Regions from separate parts of the Homo sapiens genome. Here region 1 is linked to region 2. The links are contacts of gene promoters, found by promoter capture Hi-C in human tissues and cell types (Jung and others, 2019). All regions are on one chromosome and are shown on one strand. Each heading gives the region's core, a stretch centred on a gene start or on the middle of the fragment in contact. The rest is flanking DNA. Distances are from core to core; before and after follow the strand shown.

The links. Contacts are between HindIII fragments. The study calls those that stand out against the background at their distance.
Region 1: a fragment that was not itself captured here is called in contact with the fragment with the promoter of TGFA in region 2 in 1 of the 25 tissues and cell types used here (thymus).

The regions. Positions count from the first base shown.
Region 1 is chr2:70,387,476-70,391,909 of GRCh38, forward strand. No RefSeq gene overlaps it. Among named protein-coding and RNA genes, the nearest start is that of FAM136A, 88 kb to the left of the region's middle. The HindIII fragment of the contact is 6,530 bases long and covers 1-4,434 here.
Region 2 is chr2:70,552,479-70,556,755 of GRCh38, forward strand. TGFA (transforming growth factor alpha) reads right to left here and starts at 1,348. Exons shown (of 6, transcript NM_003236.4): 1 at 1,250-1,348. The coding sequence starts at 1,289. It overlaps LOC124907824 (a long non-coding RNA gene), which reads left to right and starts at 230. Exons shown (of 2, transcript XR_007086906.1): 1 at 230-914. RefSeq lists a silencer at 1,409-1,478. The HindIII fragment of the contact is 16,400 bases long and covers 1-4,277 here.

The sequences.
Region 1 (4,434 bases), core at 1,772-4,271, 160 kb before region 2:
TTCTTTGCATTCTTTTCTTAGGTACTGGGAAAACCGGGGACTGGGAGTTAGGAGCCCAAAGCCCCAGCTGCGGGAACACTGTGATCACACTGTGTGGCCTTGGGAGGTTGTCCAGTCTCCCAGGGCCTCAGGCTCCTGGCCTGTAACACAGGCGATGGAGCAGGTGCTCTCTGAAGCCCCTCCCAATGCTGACAAACCCTCCAGGGACTCCAACACTAGCCTCACGCTGTACACTCTGTGAGTGCCATCCTCTCTCAGGCTGCTGATTTCTCCCACTCATGAGCCACTGTGCCTGGCCGAAGGTTCATTCTTGCTAACATCTGCACGGGAGGCCATTAGAAAAAAGGCCCTTTTAGAGTTCAAACGTGCCAGTGAGAGAACAAGGACGCCTACTTCCAACCGCAGGGAGTAGACCTGGAATTCTAGAGCTGTCAGTGAAATTCCCAAGGCTACCTCTGACTTATATTGTTTGACTGGGTAAGTTGATGAGTTATTTTTTGTTTCAACAAAGGTAGTGGTTGAGGTAAAATCAGGTGTCCTTTGAAAACTGGATGACCATGGAGATGTAGAATAGTGCTAAAATGGACAAATCAACAGCTAATCTGGTGAACTTGGCACCTGTTCTAGGGAAGCATTGCCATTTGGGTGGCCTCGCTTGGACTATGGTTTGGTGTTGAGTCTCAGTCCAAATAAAGTATGGATCTTCCTTCCTCTTCCCTCTGCATGTGCAGACTGCTCAATCCAAAGCCTCACAGCACTCTGTCAGCTTACCTATTGCAACAGGTACTGGCCCATGTGTTATTCTGGCTTATACTGTGGCCCCATCCTAAACATTGCTCACCTGAAATTGGAGGCCACTAAATATTTTCCTGATGAGTGCCCAGTGATTTCATCTTTTGTCATATGCCTCCCTTTGATTCTGTTCAGCTCATTGCAGTTTCATAAAAAATATTTCCTGTGTATTCAGAGCCATATACAGAACACTATATATGACACAGTGTCATATACTAAAGAACTACATGACCCAGTCCTAGACTCCAGGGAGCTTACAGTTTTCCCAGGAAGACAAGATACTTACATGAAATAGTCTGAGAATAGTCAAGACAAAAAAGCCATGGCCTCTGTTGGGCTGAACAGAGGCTCAAGTGCTCAAATGGATGATACAGTCAGTAAATTTCAAGACTGGTGAGGTGGGAGAGAGATCAGAGATGGCTGCAATTTTCAAGAAAGACTTCAAGGAGAGGACATGGGCCTTGCTTTGTTCTTGGCATTTTAAAATGGGACCAGTGATACTAAGTTTATGCAGCAATTCAGGCTCTTAAAGGATCAGGAAGAATTCCTTAGACTCTTTTAGAAGTGGGACATTGGGTTAAGGGAGAAAGGTTTTAGGAGAGGTAATAATTAGTAGAGAGAGGGGCAGAAATGGAAAGTAGACTTGAGCAAACAGCCTGTTTAATTTGGACTGTGTGAGATGGTTTCCCAACAAACATCCCTTTTCTTTCTCCCTCCCGTGCCTTCTTCAGTTTCTAGACCCTGACGTCATGACACGGTGCAGCTGCAGTTATGTATCTTTTCCTTTCTGCTTGACCCCCCAGCTTAAGTACCACTTTCTTGGCACCCACAATGGAGGGCGCTGCCAGTGGCACAGATGAGAGATTGATTTTGGACTGCCAGCTCTGATGGAAAGCTGAGGACTATTGCATGGCCTTCCCCGAGGCAGCCACTGGAAATGGTGTGGGGTGGCTCTTCTGAGAGGGTAGAATTTTGGATGCCTACCGAACCCTTCTCTAGCAAATGGAGACTGGTAGACATCCATCCTTCCTGAGTCAGTCAGAACTGTGACCCCTCTTCAGATGGAGTCCTAGGCCTCATTCCCTTCCAAGAGGATAGAGATGACATTGTCTTGGGAGTTAATGTAATAGGTAAGCTGGTGAGGTTGAGGGTTCAAGAAGATAGAGTGGTGCTGGATGGAGTAATGGCCCATGTCAAGCTATTATAGGAAACCACACATTTAACAAGGGAGAACTGATATATATATTTTTTAACACCCTTGGGAGAACCACCTCCTGGGAGGATACCAGGAACCCACCATAACCTTTATTATTGAAAATATCAGGAGGGATTCTGGGTGAGCTTTGGTCTTTCCTAGGTGGAGGATGCACATGACCTAAGGAAGTGGCACCTTGTGCCCAGAGCTCTGGCACACTTCTGTAAACTAATTCACCCATGCCTACTTCTTCCCAAGACAGGTGAAAGGTAGGAAAGACCCACAGAGGGGAGACCGCAAGTTGAATGAAAGCCCAAGTTGATTTCCTTTTGTGATGCTGCCACCATCTATATCATTCGTGGCAGGTAAAGGCTGCCATGCCTGGTCTCCACTTCAGTTGTTCTGATCTGACTCTGATAGCATGTCAGGGAGAGATGACCTCAGTGACCCAGTCAGCTCAGAAAGGCAGTTTTGCTGCTTTCCAGGAGGTAACTGAATAATCCAAGTCTGATAGGAGAATCTGGGCTGGATGGTTTTCCTTGTGAAATTTTGACTTAAGAGAAAAAAACAAGCAATTTACTAATTTTATGACCTTGTGAGAGGCAGTATAGCATAGTGGCGAAGGTCAGGGGCTTTGAATAGACTTGGTTCAAGTCCACAGCTTGTATCCCTTGCTTAACAGCTGTATAACCTAGACCAAATTGCTTAGCTTCTACAAGCCTCAGTTTCTTCATCAGTAAAATAGGGATAATACAAATCTGAGATGCTTTAAGAACTTGATAAGATAATATATACATAGCACATGGTGATCAATCAGTAAATGATAGCCAATAGTAATCATTATTAATTACAACTAAGTTTTGGATAGGGAGGATATTTGGTAGGTTTAATGAGATGGGCCTTTTGGCAAAGAAATTCATGATAATACTTGTTATTTAAAACAAATAAACAAAGGTATAACTAGGATAGATGCCCTTGACCTCCCCTATCCTGGTCATACCAGGCAATAACCTCTGACCCCTGGGCAGCAGACTAGGGCTGGCGACCTGGCTTACCCCACCCCAGGACCATGAAAGCACAGTACCTTTTGTCTTGCTGGTGTCTAACAAAGAAGGTCCAAGATGGAAACTATAATATGTGCACTCAAAGAATGTTTACTGATCTCCTGCTGTATGTCAGACACTTTTAGGAGCTGGGGACCCAGCAGTGAATAGGCAACATCCTTGACCCCATGGAATATACATAAACAATTTAATTAACAAGGTCATTTCCAATGGTGATGAGGGCTGAGACATCTTGTTTTCAGACTGATGTGTTGGAGTCTTTTCCTCCTGATAACGTTGAATGTCATTTCAAGGCCACCAGGGCTGATTCTATTGTGCCTACCTGTGCACACACAAGACTTGTGGGCTAAGCTTCTGGCTGGTCAGACACCAAGGCCCCATGTCCTCTGAGAGACAGAGTTCACTGACTGTGGGAGAGCCTTGGAAAATTCTGTTTCCCTCCTCCTGGGATCATGTTAACAGCACTTATATCCCAAACGGCCCCTTTGCAAATAAAATCAGATGTTTCTGCCCGACTCAATACTTCCTTGTCTTTCACTGGGCAGGTCTCTGTGCCATTTGAGGGCTTAAAATTTTGTAGAGCCCTTGGGATTGGATGTTTATTAGTCAAACAGAAATATGTTCCCTCTTTTTTTCCTTCATGTAGAAATGTATCTCTGGAAACATATACCAACCACTGCCAAATGCCTGGGAGTCAGGAACAGCACTACCTGCCAAGTCTTTAAAGTTTAATTCACTGCCATCCAAAGTGCAAATTAGGGAGCTGGCTCTTCTGATGTTTGGATCTGTGACACAGGAAGCTGAGTGGAACCTGAATTAGAGGTCAGGGGGCCCCAAGTTCTCTGGAGGTTATTAGTCATGAACATTGGGCAAATTACCAAATATCTCTGGGGCTCAGTTTTCTCATCTGTGAAATGGGGCAATTCAAAAGTTGCTGTGGAAGGTAAAACAAGATAAAGGCTACCTTCAGTGCCTCAGGTGTGAAGCAAGCAGGCTATCAGCAGAGGAGGAGCCAGCTAGAGGGTGAGCTAGGGCTACAGGGACCAAGAGGTAGTGGCATTTGGATGTTAGAATCTTAGAGGACACAGTGACCTTCAGTTTGGGCAAGGTTATGCCAGCATCTTTAGAGTTGTGGCTAGTGACTGAGGTGAGGCAATAGGAGGTTCTGAGTGAGGCCCTAGTTCTAGAGATGTGTGTGGGAGGCAAAGCAGGGTTATAGCCAGCAGGAGAGGGTTAAGGTAGAATGTACCAGGTCCCAGAGAGGGGGCTAGTGAATACTAGGTGAGGAGTGAGAGCGAGAACATGTTAGACAAGGAGTCAGGGCTAGTGTATGCTAGGCAAGGAGTCAAGGCTAGAGCGTGCTAGACAAAGAGTCAGGGCTAG
Region 2 (4,277 bases), core at 98-2,597:
GCAATTCTTCAAAAATGTGGGGGAAAAGCCTCCCATACCCATGTTACCTGCTGGTGAGTTTCAGGTAAGGGTGTAGCTGGGAGCATCCGGTTCCAAGACTGCCTTGTATTTCTCTTACAGGATGCCTCCCCTTCTGCTGCGGTTTTTAATCAGCGTTTCTAGGGCAGGCTTGCAGGCGGGGCCGCGAACCCCCTGTAGTTGTACACGGAGCTGGGTGAGGCTGCGGCTCTGGGCATTTCTGGGGAGGAGTTCCATGGCTTTCCACAGACTCTAACCACCCTGCAGCGAGCCGCATGCTATACGGGTTAAACTCGGGGCATATCGAACGAACAATTCACTTCACGGAAGACTAGCAATAACCAGGACACCTGCGCTATTGATCAGCTATCTCAACACCAGAGAGACCCACCAGCACAAGGGGCAAGAATTGGCCAGGAGGCGCGCGGCGCTGCGCCCTCACCGCGTCCAGACAGACCCTTGAACTTCACCGCCAAAAAACGCACCGCTCCGCAGACCCGACCCGGGAGAGGGGTTTAACTTCCCCTCACCTTTCCCATCCCTCCTTCATTTCCAAGGACATACTCAAAGGAAACTGGCAACACTCGGTCTAGGGTTTCGCTCCTGCCCTCGGCGGACACCGAAACCACTTCTCCCAGGGAAGTTAATTAAAGGAACCATTAATCCGCCCAAAAATCCAAAACCTACCCCCAAAGCTCAAGAGCTCTGAAAAGAGATCGAGGGCGCCTCTGCCGATCTTGAACATCTCTGCTCGTCGCTGGGGCTTAGAGGTGGGCAGGGGGTGCCAAAGGGGCGCAGGCAAGACCCGGCCAGAGGGTTAGACGCCGGCCCCCGTTCCGAGGCGGCCCAGTCTACACGCCAGCGACGCCGGCTGAGCCGGGCTTGGAGGCAGCCAGGTAAGCAGGTAGGTGTAGGCATGTGTCTGAGCAGACACACAGCTGCGGCGGATTAAAGTTCAAGCCCGTTCACACTCCGCTTCCCCTTCCCAGGTGTTCTCACGCACGGCCCAGGCAGCCACTTTCCCGGGGAAGCCTCGGCGCTCGACCGGACAGTCCCCTCTTTGTCATTCTTAATGACTCCCCTTGCCTCCCAGGCGCCAACCCATTGAGACTACTCGCTTCTCTCCACTCTCCCAGGCGGGCGCAGAAACCCCCGGAAAGGGGAACTCGGCGGGGACCGGGGGAAGCAGGGTGTCGCGCGGCGCAGGGGGCGCCGCAGCCGGCGTACGTACCCAGAGCGAACAGGGCGAGCTGTCCAGCCGAGGGGACCATTTTACGGGCGGGCGGGCAGCAGGCTCTCCAGCCTCCTGCCCTACCTGCGGTGCCCGAGTGGCGGAGCGGCGCCGCGGTGCGGGGGAAAAAGACGCAGACTAGGCAGGGCCTGCCCCCGGCGCGGGAGGGCGGAGGGAGGACCGAGCGCCTCTCTGCTGGCACTCGCCCCGCAGCGCTGCCCGCCGGGCGGAAATAGGAAGGCGGCTACCGTCACCTCCTCGCCACTCGGCGACCGGGGCACAGCTGACCCCCCCCTCCCGCCCCGATGGGGGTGCCCCCCTGAGGGCACAGAGGGTGGGGGTTTGGGGTAAGGGGCGGGGACGCTGAGCGCACCGAGCAGGGCGCGGGCTGCTGGGCGGGGCGACCTGGGATCCCAGAGCCTGGCGGCGCGAGCCGGGCACCCGGGCCGACGAAAAGGCAGGAAGCGCCTGACTTCAGACACCACCCCCGACTGCCAGCGCCGTGCGGCAGCGGACTCCAGCGTGCGGGGTCGGCGCCGGCCGCGTAGCCGGATTGTCCTGGGCCGCAGTGGCGGCTTCCAGGCTCTAGGCGGCGGAGCGGAGCCGCCCGGGCACCCGTTACCTACACCGAGGGGCCGCTCCTGGGGCATCTCTGGGGCGGGGAAGGCTGGAGGCTGGGGACGCAGCCAGGAAAGGGACCTGTGAGTTTCGCCGGCCGCTTGCCAAGACTTGGCTCAAGGAAAGTGGTCCCCTGAATCAATGAAGAATTTGTTAAACCAGGTTTCCCACCTGTGCCACAGTTCCCATCAATTCTGGCAACGCCTGCCGCCTTACCTCCCAGGCAGGCCACATCGTTAAGATCAGTCTTCGTACTTCTGGCCTGGGACTGATAAAAAATGGGTCTCTGTGACGAATCTGGTTATATGGCACCACCAGCTGAGGCCAAAAGCCTGCTAGCCTGCCACCAAGTGTACCCCGAAAGAGGGGTGTGTGGGCCCGAGTCACCTGGGTGGTCCTTTCAGGATTTGTGGCTCTGAGGTGGCCCCTGGTGCTGGAATTTGGGGAGGTGGAGGGGATAGAGGGAAGACATTCTGGGCGAAGAGTGGAAGATCCATAGGTTCCTCGGTGACCCTCATGGGGACAGTACACCCGGGAGATTCATGTTCTCCAGGTACCCGGAGCTCACGGACTGACCCTCTTCTCCTGCCTCCTCTGGCCTACGTGCTCCGGGTAGATCCACTTTCCTTGAAGGTGGGGGTGGGGGCTGTTGGGCCTGGGGAATCTTTTGCTGTTTACTTGGGGAGGCTCAGGCTCTCACGGTTGACCTCTGCCCAGTTTGTTTCATGTAAGTAGAGCAACCTAGTTTCAAGAAGGAAGCACCAGGCCATTGGTCTCAACATTTGGGCAGGAAGCACCAGTGTAAATCATTCCTTTCAATAGATTTGTCGGAGCATACTTTGTTCTTTTAGGGTAAATCTTTTCCTTGGTCCACCCCATGCATGTACAAGGCACACATGCACTTCCTTTAGTAGGTTGTCCCTGACTCCCACTTCCTTCAGGTTGATCTTGACCTGCTCTGGTGGTTTCCCTGTCTCCTCCCTAAACTAGTCTGCTTTGGCTACAGAAGGGGAGGAATCAGGGGTTCCCCCACCCTTCTCCTGTTCCCCAGGACTAGAGAAGGACCTGACTCCTTGCTTCCTACTGGAACACGCAAATCAAGCTCACTGTGGCTGAGGGATGGCTGCCCAGCCGGCTGAGGGTCATGTTCAGCAGTTTCTGCTTATCTGTCCCCTACCCCCAAAGTCAGAGGTGGAGGGAAGTAGCAGAATCAAGTCAATTTCCTTCATGATTGGAAAATATTTTAAATCAAGAGGTAACTTGCAGGCCAGGCATGGTGGCTCACACCTGTAATACCATCACTTTGGGAGGCTGAGGTGGGTGGATTGCTTGAGCTCAGGAGTTCGAGACCAGCCTGGGCAACATGGTAAAACCCCCCATTTCTACTAAACATACAAAAAATTAGCCAGACATGGTGGCGTGCGTCTGTAGTCCCAGCTACTTGGGAGGCTGAGGCACGAGAATCACTTGAACCTGGGAGGCAGAGGTTGCAGTGAGCCAAGATTGTGCCACTGCACTCCAGCCTGGATGACAGAACAAGACTCTGTCTCAAAAAAAAAAAAAAAAGAAAAAAAGAGATGGCCGGGCGCGGTGGCTCACGCCTGTAATCCCAGCACTTTGGGAGGCCGAGGCGGGCGGATCACGAGGTCAGGAGATCGAGACCATCCCGGCTAAAACGGTGAAACCCCGTCTCTACTAAAAATACAAAAAAAATTAGCCGGGCGTAGTGGCGGGCGCCTGTAGTCCCAGCTACTTGGGAGGCTGAGGCAGGAGAATGGCGTGAACCCGGGAGGCGGAGCTTGCAGTGAGCCGAGATCCCGCCACTGCACTCCAGCCTGGGCGACAGAGCGAGACTCCGTCTCAAAAAAAAAAAAAAAAAAAAAAAAAGAAAAAAAGAGATAACTTGCCATCTTACAAACTAAAGAGTATCCAAATCAAAGTACATTCTAATGCTTGAAAATCATTAATTCTCCCTCCAAGATTTTCAAAAGCTGGTCCATATCTGTGGTTTTATAACCCTCCAATTCATTCAAGTCAAACAGGTCATCAGGGGCTGGGTGTTTTTTTTTTTTTTTTTAACTTAAAGATCATTTTTTTGGTAAACTGAATTGAAATGATTTTTAAACGTTTAGTCATAGAGGAAACCTAATATCCTAAATTGTTGATGCTCTATCTTTTGTATTTTATATATCTCATTTAATCCTCACAATAATCTTATGAGATAGATCCCATCCCCTTTTATAAGAGAAGAATCAAGACTGAGTGAATTTAGTAACTTACCCAGAATTACACAGCCAATAAAGGGCAGAGCTTGATTTTGAAAGCAGAACAAGCTGGTTCTGAGGCTTATGTGCTGGCTTCTCTGCTATACTGCCTCGGTTTCCACATTTTCAATAAGGATAATGCTTAA